3 separate regions of the Homo sapiens genome follow, and all the other regions are linked to region 2. Evidence: promoter capture Hi-C in 16 types of primary human blood cells and fetal thymus (Javierre and others, 2016). All regions are on one chromosome and are shown on one strand. The core of a region is centred on a gene start or on the middle of the fragment in contact, and the rest is flanking DNA. Distances in the headings are between cores, read along the strand shown.

What was found. The method cuts DNA at HindIII sites, captures the fragments that hold promoters and counts their contacts. A CHiCAGO score of 5 or more calls a contact.
Region 1: a contact is called between a fragment that was not itself captured here and the fragment with the promoter of LMX1B in region 2, in 2 of 17 cell types (total B cells and naive B cells). The highest score is 5.4, in total B cells.
Region 3: a fragment that was not itself captured here is called in contact with the fragment with the promoter of LMX1B in region 2 in 2 of 17 cell types (total B cells and naive B cells); the score reaches 9.8 in total B cells.

The regions. Positions count from the first base shown.
Region 1 is chr9:124,016,296-124,021,389 of GRCh38, reverse strand. LHX2 (LIM homeobox 2) reads right to left here. Exons shown (of 5, transcript NM_004789.4): 4 at 86-291. Among named protein-coding and RNA genes, the nearest start is that of LHX2, 7.1 kb to the right of the region's middle. The HindIII fragment of the contact is 9,872 bases long and covers 1-5,094 here.
Region 2 is chr9:126,610,409-126,615,177 of GRCh38, reverse strand. It overlaps LMX1B (LIM homeobox transcription factor 1 beta), which reads right to left and starts at 1,250. Exons shown (of 8, transcript NM_001174147.2): 1 at 590-1,250. The coding sequence starts at 728. It overlaps LMX1B-DT (LMX1B divergent transcript), which reads left to right and starts at 1,379. Exons shown (of 2, transcript NR_184148.1): 1 at 1,379-1,729. RefSeq lists enhancers at 1-516, 517-1,098, 1,354-2,322, 4,266-4,769 and a silencer at 3,475-3,544. The HindIII fragment of the contact is 12,076 bases long and covers 1-4,769 here.
Region 3 is chr9:124,001,930-124,006,903 of GRCh38, reverse strand. It overlaps LHX2-AS1 (LHX2 antisense RNA 1), which reads left to right. Exons shown (of 2, transcript NR_135129.1): 2 at 1-627. Among named protein-coding and RNA genes, the nearest start is that of LHX2-AS1, 5.0 kb to the left of the region's middle. RefSeq lists an enhancer at 1,321-2,078. The HindIII fragment of the contact is 1,349 bases long and covers 3,032-4,380 here.

The DNA of each region.
Region 1 (5,094 bases), core at 771-3,270, 2.6 Mb after region 2:
CCTTCCAAGGCCCACGGCGAGGGGTGCAGGGTTCCACCCCAGTCCCTGGTGGTCGCAGATGCCCTCACCCCTGGCCCTGGCTGACCTGGAGGACCCGCTTGGTGAGGCCCGTCTTTTGCGCGAGCTGCTTCAAGTCCTTGGCGTCGGGGTTGTGGTTAATGGCAAAGTAAGACTTCATGGTCCGAAGCTGGTGGTGCTTGAAGGACGTGCGCATGCGCTTGGTCTTCTGGCTGCTCGGGTATGGCTGGTCACGGTCCAGGTGCTCTGCGTCGTTTTCGTTGCAGCTTAGCGCTAGGGAGGAGACACAGAGCCGGTGGGTGAACTTCCTGACCCGCCCCCCATGCCAAATCCACACTCGCCCCACCCACTGCCAAACATTTCAATCCTTAACCCTGCTGCATGTCTGCGCCACAATGAAAGGGGGACATCATCCCCATTTTATAGATGGAAACACTGAGGCTCAGAGACAGCGATCCACCCAGGATCACACTGCTAAGAACTGCAGCACTGAATCCCGGCTCTGGGAGAATCCAAAAATCATTCTGAGCCATTATGTTACAATAAGAACAATAGTAGCAGCAGCAGCAGCAGCAGCAACAACAGCTACGACTTGTTGATGGCCGATTGAACTCCAGGTGATGTGTTAAAGGGCTTTCCAGGCACATTTTCTTTAGGTACTTAAAACAATCCTAGGAGCACCAGGTATTATTTTTCCCGTTTTTACAGATGTTGAAACTGAGGCTCAGCAAGGGAAGTCACTTGACTTTGGACACAGCAGGACAGGGTCTCTGGGCCTGCCCTCCTCCTGTTTTCCAAGGCACTCTAAGGAGGAGTGCTTTCTGCCGTCTCCCCCTACCGTGTCTGGGACCGGCACCTAGAAACTGCTGAAACAGAGATTCATGTTCATTTTGCCACACCCAAAAGTACTGAGGGACCCCTGGGCCTTGGGCACTGGGCCAAAGGTTGGAAACTGCATTTTGCAGTTTAATCCTCATCGCTACCCTGTAAGATGATTGTTTCTCCGTGAACAAGTGGAGCAAATTAGGCTCGGGGAAGTTCAGAGATCTGCGGCAGTCCACAGAGAGCGGCAGAGTGGACGGGGAAGGAAGTCCGAGGCAGAAATAAACATGTAGTAGACACCTATGGTGTGTGTTTGGCTTTACAAATGTCACTGTACATCATTACCTCTCAGAGAGGTGGCTATGACTATTCCCATTTTAGAGATGTGGAAACTAACGCTAAGGGAAATGAAGCCACTTGCACACTGCCACACCACCGGTAACCAGCTAGATTGATCTTGATCTGTTGAGCCTAGATTTAGCACTGGAGTACTCCTTGTTTTCTTCCACTACACCACGAAGGGAGGAGGGAGCCTGTCCCTAACCACAAGGAGCCTCATGGGGGCCACGCTGCCAATGCCTGGCTGGCATTGGGGGTGGGGAATATGGGTGAAAACCTGGGCCTCAGAAAATTGCTCAGCCACCTGGAAGCTGATGGGGACCTGCAGGACCCCTCCCAAGGTCGCCTCCTCATGGCACCTCCCGAGCCATGCCACACTTAAGGTCTTGCCTTGGGGTAAGCCTCATAAGGGGTGTACATTCGGTCCGCCTAAAGTGAGAACTGAGAAGGTATCTTGTGCCCTCATCACATACCCGTAACAGAGCTCTAGATTTAGCAAATGAAAATACAGGTTGCCCAGTTAAATATAAATTTCAGAAAAATAATAAGTAATTTTTTAGTATAAGCATGTCCTAAATATTGCATGGGACATACCTATACTAAAAATGTATTTGTTGTTTACCTGAAATTCAAATACTACAGGTGACACAGCTATGCTAAAAAATTGTCATTTATCTAAAATTCAAATATTACACGGGACACTTATACTACAAATTTCAAATTTATTCGTTATTTTTCCAAAATGCAAATATTGCCGGGGACACTTACACTAAAAATGTATTTGTTACGTACCCAAAATTCCAATTTAACTGGGGATGCTGCATTTTGCCTGGCCACACTACCTCCAAAGGACTTTTACTCTGCTGGTGACCTCCCCCTTCCCCTGCCCAGATGGGGAAGAGCCCCTTGCAGAGAGAATTTGCAAGATACAAGTCTTGCCCCTGCCTTTGGAGCTGTTAGCTAGGGGCTACACCTCCTAGGGGCCTCTTTCCACCGGCACTCAGGTCCCCTCACCCCCGGGGCTGCATTCCCACAGAGAGCACGCCCAGAGTGAAGAGCGCGGGTCCGGCAATTTAAAGGGGATCAGAGGATGCCTCTGAACCTGATCCACCAGAACTGCTTGGAACCCGCTGAGGTGAGCAACCCTTTTCTTTCCCCCAGTCCCCAGCTCCACTGGGGGTGGGGCAGCCTCCCTACGGGGTATCTTTGGGCCCATCCCTCCACCGAGCCCCCGCCTGGGCCTGGCTGCTGTTAATGAGCTCCGTGGGGACCCCGGCGCCCCCATGGGCCCAAGGGACCTGCCCTGAGTGCCGCCTAGGTGGGGTAGTAGTGCGGGGGAGGGGGACAGAAAGGGCAGAGAAAGGAGAGAAAAAGACAAACACAGAAAGGCAGAATGGAGGGAGAGAAAGAGAGAGGGGGTAGGGACGGAAGATGGACAGAGCCAGGAAAAAGAGAGGACAGACAGAGGAAAAGAAAGCGAAGGAGCCAGGAGAACCACAGAGAGACAGCTACAAAGACAGCAAGAAATAGGGAGAGCGGAGGGGAAAGCGAGTCCCGGAAACAGGCGCAGCTTGTGGCGAGGGTCCGGTGGCCGAGCTGAATCCCGGGGCTCCGGGAGACCCGGTCCCTGCGGGGGAGGCCTTTTCCGAAGCCGTTATTGGCGGGGGAGTAGAGAAAAGGGGAAAGAAGGGGAGTGGAGAAAAAGGGAAAGGAGCCGGCCCTAAGTAGCGAGGCCGAGGCCGGCCAGAGGCAAGGGCAGGGGGCGGCGGCGGGGGAGGCAGCCGTGGGGCCCAGGTTTGGCCGGCGCCCCGAACCCCCTCACTCCCGCCCCCAGTGCCCGGGGGCGGGTCGAGATTCCCCAGGATCGGATCCGGGGAGGAGCGAGGGGCCGAGGGGAGGGGGAGGACCCGGGCTTTCTCTCTCCTTTTTTTTTTTTTTCCTCTCAATTAGGCCGATTCAATGGAGCTAAAGAGCTCGTAAAATCATGAATAATTTACTCGTGATCTGTTATTAACCCATCGGGTTTCGAGCTCTTGTCGCTGGGACTGAACCTGTAATCAAATCTGACTTCGCCTCATTTTACTAAAGACGAGATTGTAGGTTCAATTGTCTAAATAATGGATTGGAATCAAATCAGTAATTACGCCGCCAGGCACACACACACAAAAAGCTGGGGCTGGGGGAGGCCGGGCGTCCGGCCGGTCCGCGCGGGACTCCCGCGGCCGCGGCGCGCAAACCCAGGCGCAAAGTGCGCGGCCCGGGCCCCTCGCCCGCTCCTGCCGCCGTTTTCGCACCCCCAGCCCGCTGGCAGCCCCTCCCGGGGTAGGGGGAGGTTTCCGTTCCACCGGGGCCCGGGCCCGAGGGGCTGCGGGAAGAGGCCGCTGCGGCCCCGCCCCGGAAGGACTTTCCGACCCCGCGGCCCGCGGCTCTGCTGTAAGCCCAGCGCCCGGCGCCCCGACGGCGCCCCCTCCCCACTCGGCCCCCAGCTCGCCGCCCTTCAGTAAGGTGCCGCCGCGCCTCGGAGGGACTGTCCCCAGAGCAAGAGGCTTTGCAAGGGGTCGTCGTGGCTGGGCCACAGGATGTGGGACACTGCCACAAACAAGCTCGTGTCCCCGTGGTCGGAACCCTGCACGCACACGCACACGACCCGCGCCCGCACACCCCGTCCGCGATCGCACCCTCCAGGGTCCCCGCTTTCCAGTCCTAGCTGCCCCGCGGCCCACACTGCGGCCATTTCTCTCCTGCCAGTGCGGGAGGGGAGGGAAGGGCGGACGCCAGATCTAGGAAGACTGGGCTGGGCCCCGAGAGGCCGGGGAGATGCCCTCTTTCCCCAACCTAGTCCCGGGAGCCCCGAAAGAGCCAGCCGCATAGCCACCGCCGGCGCACCGAACGCCGTTTCTCTCAGGACTAGGAGCCCCGGCCAAGGTCGGAGAGGAGGGCACGGGAACAAACACGACACACACAGAGACAGAGATAGAGAGAAAGGACGGAGAGAACGGAAAGGAAAAAAAGAGAGAGGGAGGCCAGAGAGAAAGTGAGATGGCTGAATGGAGGGTGTCTCTTGTAGAGGTTAAACAAGGCTTGAAATTCAGCCTCCAGCCCACCTCGCTGGGGCAAACGGCGGCTGAACAGCAAAAAGCAGAAATAAATCTCTGTACCTTCTACTCTCTTTTTGCACAATCCTAAAACCGGCGCCGAACCTCCGTGCCCAGGAAAACAATACAGCTCCCCAGCCACCAGGTGCCCTGGAGCCGAGCCCCGCGAGGTGCTTCCGAGTGGAAGTTGACCCACTTGATAAATAGAAGCGGCTTGGTGTTGGGGGAGCCGGTCTGAACTCGGTTTTGTCTTTTTTTGGGGGGTGGTAGGAGAGGAGGGATGGAAGTTCCAGAGAGCTACATCTGTGGTAGTGCCTTCAGCAAATCTTAAATCCGCGCCACCGACCGGCCTACCGCTGCTTCACCATTTACCAAACTGGGGGCTGCGTTTTCCTCCCAGTTCCGCACACAGGGACACACGCCCCATGATCCTCCAAGCGATTTCGTTGGAGCGAACACCCGCCCCTCATTTCCCTCTCTATTCAACTCAGATTCTTTAAGATGAAAATAACTGACTTCTTCCCGCCGTAGCACCCTCTGCACAGTCTTGGGTTTGTTTTTGTTTTTGCTTTTTTCTGCTTGTGCATTAGACTAAAGGGAAAAGGAAGAAGAACACAAAATCTCCAAATCTAATTCTGTTGCAAACGAAAGAAAGAAAATAATTGCACATAAACTCTAGTTCGGAAGCCCGGAGAGTCATAAACCTTTCCGGGCCTTGCAGACTTCGGGCAGATGTTGACGGCTCATTTGCCGGAACTCAGAACCTCTGCAGCTGTCCTGAGCAGGGAGGGGCGCGGGAGGGGGCAGAGCTTCTCCGGGA
Region 2 (4,769 bases), core at 1-2,500:
GCCGCGGGCCTCGAGCCTTGGCTCGGCGCTGTGCTCTCCCCTTCTCCGGAGAATCCGCGCTCCGTGTTAAGACAAATGACAACGAGCACGGCGCAGGGTGGCCGGCTGGGACCAAGACAGGCGAGGTGAGGCTGGGGCGCTCGCTGGCTGACACGCCCCACGGTGGCGTTCGTGGTCTTCTATCCCCGATCTCCCCAAAATCTGTGGTTTGAGTGACCAGGGAGACGTTTTTCTCTTAGAATCTCCCCCACCCCAGGTGACCTTGCGCCTCTCCCAAGCTCGCCAAGGTGATTGCTAGGTCCTCCATCACCCCTGCCACCCGCCACCTACCACATCGGAGTGGCAGCTCTAGAACCTAAGCCTGGAAAGGATGGTGGGTGGCGACTGGAGCTGTCCTGTCCCCTCAGGACGCCTGCCGGAGGCGTACTTGCGGCCCTCTGGCGATCACTCCAGGAGTCCTGTCTCTGCCTCCTCCCCATGTCCTGCAAACCCATTTCCTTTATCCGTTGGCCCCAACGCCCGTGTCCACAGCCGGACGACGCCCCATCCCACGCCCGAGACCACTCGGGCGTTCCGACCCCGCACTCACCCAGCAGCACCCCCAGAGTGGCGGGCCCGGGGCGCAGGGCGTGCTCCTCCATCTTGATGCCGTCCAACATCTTGGCGCAGTCCGTCTGCCCGCGAGGGAAGCACCTCTCCAGCGACTCGGGACCTGTTGCTATATCCATGGGACGCGGGGCGCGCTGCGGACCCCGCCGGCCGGGCTGCTCGCCCGCCGGCCCGTCCACCCGCTCTCCGCCGCCGCGGCCCTGGAACCGGGGAGGCGCGGCCCCCGCAGGGCAGGGGTTGCGCCGGCCCCCGGCGATCGTGGAGCGGCGACGCGCTGGCCCCGGGCCCCGGCGTCGTGCGGGCGGGCCGGGGCGGCTGCAGCCCGCGCCGCGCTCTCCCGGACACTTGCAGCCACGCGCGCCGGCTCCTCTGTCACCTGCTTGTCAGTCCCGGAACCCGGCGGCGGCGGCTGCTGCAGACGGAGCCGCGGGGAGGAGGCGGCGGCGGCGGTGGCGGTGGCGGCGGCGGCAGGCGGGGGAGGGGGTGGGGGTGCAGGGGCGGCCCCGCGGGCCGCGGGGGGGGCGCGCGGCGCAGCGGGGTCCCGGGCGGGGCGCAGCGGGCCGCGGGGCTCCGGGCGCGCTCCCCGCGCTACTCCAGTGCCATGGTGCGCCCGCTGAGCCGCCGGGTTTAGAGCTGGGGCTGGCGGCGGAGGGATACGGGCCGCCTCACCTCCCGAAACTTCCTGACATTTGAACCCCGCGGCCGGTATCCCTGCGCCGGGATGCGCCGCCGGCTCCACGTCAAATAGTGCCGTCCCGCCCCCCCGCGCGCCCCGGGGCTCCGCGCCCCTGGCCCGCGCCCCGCGCCGCGCCTGGCCCCGAGCTCAGGCCCCGGCTCCCCGGCCCGGCCGCCCCGCGGGCCCCTCGCAGAAGTTTTGATCGTCTTCGAAACAAATCCCTCTGCTCCACCCCCTTGAAAAATTGATTTGGGAGTTGGGGAGCGAAGGCTTTCTTTTTTCTCCTCTGCCTTCTTTATTATTAATATTTTGTAAAGCTCCAGCGCTACGAGGAGTGGCCCCGAGCGAGGCCAGACTGCGCGGACGGCAGGGAGCGCGGCGGCTCCGCCAGGGGACGGCGCCGGCCGGGAGTGGCCGCTTGGGAACCCCCGACTGTCGGCCGAGGTAGGTCGCGGGGGCTGAGTCGGAGTCCCCCGGGCGGCGGCGCCTGCTCGGGGCCGCTTGGTCCGCGGAGAGGGCCGGCTCCCAGGAACGAAGGACGGGGGCGGGCAGAAGGCGAGGACGGCTGGCCCTGGACTCGTGCAAGGGGGGCCCAGGCCCAGGAACGGGGAGTGAGCCTGGAGTGTGGGTGAGGGGTCTGGGAAAGCTCCGGGCCTGGCAGAGATTGGGCGGGGGACTGAGCCGATGGGAGGTTGGGGCCCCGGGATCGAGAATGGGGGACACTGGGACGACAAGGAAGGTCAGGCCTGGGTTCAGGCGACCGAGAGTTTAGAGGACAACTAAGGCTGGAAAAGGGGTCCCCGGGCAGGGGCAGGAGCAGTGGGCAAGACCCGGGCCTCCTAGGGTTTGCAGTGAGGGGCGCTAGGAGGGAGTGGTGGCCCCAGGGTAGCGGCTCTGAAGAAATTAGGTTGGCTGCCAAGATCGGGGTCCTTTGGCGGGTCGGGTGCCCGGCCAGGGGTCGCTGGGACGCGCGGATCAAGGACAGTGCTCTAGCCAGCCTGGGCAAAGTGGACCTCGGCAACGGGACGCGAAAGCTGGCGAGATGGAGCTGCCGACTTCCGCGCCAGCCGGGCCTGGCACCCGCGTCCGGTGCGAGAGGCCACAGCGTCGGACCGGCTGTCTGCGGCCCGTGGTCCCCACCGACGCGCGGCTCACCGGGGAGCAGGGGGGCGGTTGCGGCCCGGGGTAGCGGCGGGCTGACCCCCCGCGATCCGCTGCGGGGCGGCCCCGGCCCCTCCCGGAGCGAGGCAGCGGCGCGGAGCCGGGCGGGGGCGGAGGGCATGGGGGGCGGGTCCCCTGACCTCGCTGGAGGCGAAAGGGCGGATCGGATTTGGAACCTGCGGGAGGCTTGGTCAGAAGTGGCCCCCTGCGCCGCGGGGCCCCGCGGAGGGGCCCGGCTTTGTGGAGGATTAGAGGCTCCCGCCCTACCCTACCTGCGTGTGTGTCGGTGGGTATCTGTGTGTGTCTGTGCGTGTCGGGCCCCCGCCTCTGCGGCTCTTGCCTCCGTGTGCTCCTTGGCTCTGCACACACGGTATGTGTGTCCCTGCAACCTTCCAGACTCCCAGGGGTGAATCTGTGGATCTGTGTCTGAGTCCCCTGCACCCGTGTGTATGTGAATGTGTGGGTCCTTCGTGCCTGTGTCTGGGGTGTGTGTCCGCATCATTTCATGCGGGGGCCTAAGTCTTTGTGCGTGTCTCAGCCTCTGTGTTGTGTCTGCGATCCTTTTCTGTATGGGTGTCTCTGTCAGCTTTGCGTATCTGTGCTTATCTCCGGGGTTCTGAATGCTTCTGTGTGCTCGCGTGTCTCCTAGCGTGTGTGTGTGTGTGTGTGTTTGTGTGTGGTGGGGGGCTTTGTGCCTTCGTGTATTTCTAGGCGCCTTTGTGTGGCTAGGTCGGGGAGAGTGGACAGTCAATGTGGAGTTTCTCTCCCACATCTCGGTCCCCTCTTTGCTTGACCTGGAAACCCCAGGCCTGGACCCGCGAAGTTGGGCTGGGCCTGAGCCGCCTTCTCCGGGCATCTGGGGCGGGGGCGCGGCTGCTGCAGGGAGAAGCCGGGCGGGCAAGGCTTCGGCGCACAGAGCCAGAGTCCCGAGGCGCGGAGCGCGGCTCGGGGCCGGCGGGCGGACCAGGCACTTTCTGCCCTCTGCTGGTCGCGGTCCATCCCTGCAACCGGGGCTGGGCGACTGCCTGCAGGCGAGAGTCCTCGTTCCAGGCCCAGACCCTCTCCCTCTCCTTCAGGGTGCACATGGTAATACTCTCTCGTCACAGGCCCTGCACCCCCAACTCCTGGCGCAAGGCTCCATCCCCTCCCCACCTTCCCTGTGCCTGGCCTCTCCTACCCTACAGCTCTCCTTTCCCCCTCCTTGGCTGAATGAGGGCCCCTGCGATCCAGTCTCCCAGGCTTCTCTAACTCGGGTTGGCGTCCAGTGCCGATCTGGGGCCGCTGGCTGTGCCCAGAGGCGCATTCCCCGGACCACTCGAAGGCCTGGTCTCAAGGCAGGAGGACTTGTGGGAAGTACCCCCTCCGTGCCGCGTCTGGTCTGTCCGGGTGCGCATGCATTCTCAGCGCCTCTTCCGCGCTCCTGCCAGTCATATCCCACGCCACCAAGGCGGATATAGGGTGGTCTGCCGCCATGCGGCCCGCGCCCAGATAGGGGCGCTGGCTCGGTGGACGCCAGAGCCTGGCTGCCTTCTCTGGTCTGGGGTGGGGCTGCTGAGTCCACACCCCTTGGGCCCCTCTGCATGCCTTCCCCGCTGTCCATTCATTCCCCCTACACACACACACACACACACACACACACACACACACACACACACACACACACACACACACACCCTCCCTATAGGCCCCGTTCCTTGCCCTTTGTCCTCACTCCTCGTGTCCCGTGCTCCCAGCTGAGTTGGCCGGTCTCGGGTCCTTCGCACGCAGACGCGCAGGGGTCCCAGATCTCTCCAGCACAATCGGGGCTCCCGCGCCTCTCCACCGCTTCCCTTGCCGAAGAAGCGAAGAAGCGGCCGACTGGACGGCACAGCAGGGGCCGAGGCCCAGAGCCGGCTCCTGCCCGCAGGCGGCGAACGGCACCTTGCTCCGCCAGGCCCCTGCGGGTGTGATCCGTGACCCGCAGATTCTCCCGGGCGCCTCTGGCCCATGACGCGGGGGCTGCTCGCTCCACGCAGGCGGCTTCGGGATGCTCTCCCGCTCAGATTTCAGCGGCAGAAACAGCCTCGGATTCTCTCTACCTGGGGGAAAGACTGAGTCGGGGGCTCGGAATCACTGGAAGAAGCGAGAATGGAAAGGGAGGCTCTGGAGCGGGGGTCCCGGCTCCTTCCAGTCTGCGGACGCCCCAGCTCCATTGAGCCCCGCCCTAGTCCCCCCGCTCCTCTTCTTAGGGCCTTGCACCCTCTCCTCTGCGCTACCCGCCTCCCTCGAGCACGGCTCTATGAGCTGCCCTCCCCCACCCCACCCAGCCCTGTCCATCCCGCTC
Region 3 (4,974 bases), core at 2,457-4,956, 2.6 Mb after region 2:
CTCCTCCTCTTCTCCCTGCAGCGATCTGAACAATTCTGAAACCGCCTCCCTGGGCGTCAGCTGAGCAGGTTGGGGAACTAACCAGGGCTCTCTCTCTAGGGCCCTGTTAAATGCACTGAACTTAAAATGAAACACGAAGTGTGAATTTCAGGTTTGAACATGATGCATCAGGAAACGTGGAGGTTGGCAGCCCTTTTCCTCCCTCCTGCTTTTCAGTAGCAGGTATTAATATTGTATTAAATGTTATGAGAAAGTAAAGGCTGCGGAGAGGAATGTGCTCAGATGCAATTTTGTCAAGGTTTTTATCTGTGATTATGATTCCAGATGTAGAAACTCCCGGAGGAGGGAAATGAGGGGCTGCTGGCATGTGACATGTGTTTTAAGGTGTTTGGCAGTGTTTCTCAAAGTGGTGACAAAATGTTCAATTTTATTACAGGGAATTGGTAAAAGAAATATGAATACTAGGTCAGAGATTGTTCACCTCAGCAAAAGGATTTACCATTATTGATTAGGGTGCAGAAAGTATGTATCTAGGTCCTGCTTAAATCACATTGTCAACAATATAAATCTGTCAGATCAGATTTTTCTGAAAGAACAATTATAACAAAATACACTATAGCTAATTGCATCCCCTCACGGCTAATTTCCATGCAATGATGTAAATTTCCCTGGAAGCAAAACCAAAAAAGGTAAATGTTGCAAAAAGATGCCATTTTTTCCCCAACTGGTATAACTACAGTCATTTATTGACAATCATTTCTTTTTAATCTAGCCCAGAATGATATCCAGTACTAGTAGGGCCATTTTGCTAACCTGGTTGCTCTGCCAGCCTTTCAGGTTGAAGCACAAGAAAAACTAGCAACAAATTTCCTCACATAGGAAACCACATTTTGCTTAGAGGAGAATCCAAAAGATTTTGTATGGAAAAAGTGGGGACGGGGGAAGAGGAGGAAGCAGATGAACCCTTGACTGTCTGACAACTCATATTTCCATGCACTTGAGACTAAAAATTTTTCCTATCACAGCCTTCTTCATTCAAAGGCATCTCTGCCATCCTTCTCTGACAGCAGGACACCTCTAAACTCCATTTCTAAGCACAGGTTTCCCCATAAAGCTTTTATGAGCTTCCCATACGCTAACACCAATCGACTGGAGTGCCCAGCCAGCACTGACTGGAGTTGGGTTTGGTAAACATTTCTACATAACAAAAAAGGAGTTTTTAGCTAAAGATGCTGGACTTGGCTCCTCCTTGGGTTCTCAATCAGAGGACGAGGGTCTCTACCCACTTGCTGGAGCCACGCTTTACAGATCACCCCATGTCTAGCACACCCATTCAGCCCCAGCCTCTCTTTAGTCCAGGCTAAAGAATGTTGATTTGAGCTTCCCAGCCACTGGCACTATTTTACCATCACAAAGCATGCTAGGCTCCCAGCACAAAGTGCAACTTCCTAGGAAGTAAGACAATTCCTCTCCTAGAAGATGATGTAGGATGTGTTAGTTTTCCAAGGGGAACACTGAGGTTGCAGGGGAGGAAAAATGCCCAGTGTGACCACCATATCTCCCCCTACACTTTCAACAGGACCCCTCCCACACCCAAGTCCAACTTTCCACTGGTTTGATTAGCAAATCTCTCCTGCTTTTGGGAAGTTGGCATTGTCTCTTTAGGTGAGGAATGAGTCATTTCCCACACATGCTTCAGCTGAAGCCCAGTCCCTTGGCACCCCTCCCCAACATTTTTATTCTTCCATTAATTAAAACAACTAATGTCCCATTGATTATCTTTGCATGAATGAAAATCACTACAAGCCCTTGCAGGTATATGAGAAATTCTGTTTGCTTAAGTATTCACACTTTGATTTCCTATAGGCTAATTTTCTCAAGCATAAAGAAATTCAAACAAAACAAAACAAAAACAAAAACAAAATCTCCTGGCACTTTGCAATAAAATACAAATGCTAGTTGTAAAGAGCTTGTGCCGATCTCTTGCAGGAAGAAATGTTCAGATGGCCCTGTTTTAGTGCTGAGTTTTACTATCTGGTAATGGATTCTAGACAGTGAAGGCAAACATTGATAGGTCATCAGACTCAGGTTTTGAATTTCTGTTTGTGTTGAGTGAGATGAGCTCACCCAAATTTACTTTTAAGCTACCATGTCAGCCCTCGAAAGTAAAAAGGCAGGGGACAATCGACACTATTTAGAATTTCCCAGCTACTTGGCCATTTCAGCTTGCATCTCCATTTCTGGGGGCTGCCATAATTAGAGCGATCTATTTTGCATTTACTTCTCTTTGCAAGCACTACATTATTCACTCTTTCCTGTGCTTATTAAACAGTGCCACCTGCACCAAATTCAACAAAGCTCTTCCATCAGTCGGGCCCAGCGAAGGATCCCAGACCATATATTATCATTAATTGAAGCTCAGTTGAATTGTTGACGATAGAGTCAACAGCAAAAGCAACACATTTTCTAGGAGCTGTTTATAAAAATATTTTAAACAAAAAAAAATGCATTCTCCAAATCGTCATCTTTTACAAACTCATTTCATTCCTTCTGTACAGTAATTCAAGCAGCAATTAGCAAGTCTTTTAATTAATGAACTATTCCCTGTATGTCACCAAGGTGCCTGCAGCACAAATGTCCTCCTTCATAGGTACCAGCAGATGCAGTCGATAGTTTGTCCCCCAAAGCCTTAGAAGCTGACTACCTCGACAGCCCTAACACTAAAAAAAGGATGTGAAGAGCCAAAGGCAAGGCTGGAAAGCAGAGAACAATTTTCAGGAAAGTAGCCATGGAGAGTATGAATCCAGAGAAAGGGAAAGACAGGAGAAAGGGAACCAGCAGCAGAGGGGAGAGGCAGAATATGAATGTCTAAAGACATCCATGGCTAAAGAAAGGCACAGAAAGTTTCTGGCAAAGGTGGGATCATCTCTGAGCTTCAGCTACGTTATAAAGGTACCTTACATCCTAATGCTGATGATTTACACATTTTTAAGAGCCTCAAACCTCACTGTGGCTTGTTCTTTTAAAAGCTTCCTGCTTTGTTCAAAATACTGCTTATCTTTGGTATTGTCAACAGCTCTGCTCTGGGAGAGATTAATTAAGTGATAGGTCAGACACAATGAGGTGAAAGGGCATGTCCACCCAATCAGGACTGATTCATCCGTTTCTAGGTGGATCAACTTTTTTGAGGGATGCCAATTTTGGTTCAATTTCCAGGGGGTTTTATCAATAGGGATGCCTCAGCTCCTCTGGTGAGGGGCACTTAGCTGGTAAAGACTGGTCTGCAGATAGAAAAATCAAAAATCTTCACTTTGTTTTTTTAAGATGTGGAAACAAAACATAACTATCAATTGTCTGTATGCTTAAGTTTTACCGATCTGGGAGAAGGCTGATTTATTGAATCCTTTTACAAAATACAAAATAGCTAATTGGGTGGTTATAATTAAGATTGCTACGCACCACAAAAAAAAAAATAAAAAGTTCGCTTTCTCTCCTCCCCCCACTGTTTTTCATTGCCCTTTTCTTTCAAGTCCACTTTTAATTTCTAGAAGGTAATATCAGAGAAAAATAGAAAAGAGAGAGAGAATGAAAAAGAAACAGAGATTTTCAAGATGTCATCTCTTGATGGTGGAGAGACAGAGAATGAAAAAGAAACAGAGAGATTTTCAAGGTGTCATCAGCTTAATTTTTCCAGACCAATTAGAGGTTACCTTTAAATCTCCATCCTTCACCCCCTCCACACCTTTCTAAATAGATCTTTAGACTAGTGAGAAATTAGTTCATTGGGAAGGGTCATGTGGTTGGCTTACCAGGTTCCTAACCAGAAGGGTTTTAGGGACCTTAGACCCACTCCTAGAAATGGCACCCTCCCCATCTCTCTGGCAGTCTGGATCAAAATTGTGGTTGCAAAATTGTGTGTGTGTGTGTGTGAGAGAGAGAGAGAGAGAGAAAGAGAGAGAAGAAAACTCCCAGCCTGTGAATAAGGCCAGGCTCAGGTAAGGTGACTATTATTGGCAGACCCCAAACAAAACATCTGGAATATTTTTACTCTATTTTTGAACACTCTTGAAAATGAGCCTCACATTTTCCAAGGTATTTTGGGGGCAGGGAGGAAGTATGGGGGTGAACAATGGTTTGGGTTTATGCAACTGACCAGCCATTTCCCCTTCTCCAAAGAAATGTAGAAGGCTAGTTTCTTAACTATCTAGTTGTTTAAATCATCTGGGATCCATCTATATTTATAAAACTGAACAGAAATACTTAACAGCCTGATCAATAGCCATTGACCGTCGGTGCACCTCGCACCCTAACATGCACAGCTTGATCATGTATATTTGATCATTGAAAAATTCAAAGCATCTTGCAGCAGTGTATCAAGCTTCCCATAAAATAGTCTGCCTCTTTCTGTGGTCTTAAAAGAGTGTGTTTTTCTCTCTCCTGCATTTATCTATCTATCCACCTATTTATCTACACACACACACACACACACACATTTCCCTTCCTGGAGAATTTATTGCTCATATATTTGATGAAGAACAAGGTAATTAACTGCCTGCGAGGCTGTACATCTGGGCGGCACTTCATATCCATTGCAATAATAAAACACTTTTTTCACATTTTAGCAAAAGAAAGGCTAGTCCTGCCCACAGATTCAGAGGACCCCAGAGTCTCTGCCTGCAAAGTCTCCTTGTTATAAATCCTGCCTCCCTCTTAAGTGATGGCAAGCACAATTGCACCAAGGGGCACTAAGTTTATCTGTGCAAAAGCATCACTGGAAAAGCTTGTCCCTTCTCAGAGCTTCAGCATCAGCTTGTGGGGGTTTGAAACAGACACAGCTGGCTCCTCCATCCCCAGCCTGCTTGGCAGCAAACCGGGGCAAGAGTCCAAAGGACTGATCCTGTGAGGGGCCACAGGTAGAAGAGATATATTTTGGGATCCCAAGGGTTGTTGTCTTGAGCATGTGTCGCTAAGAAC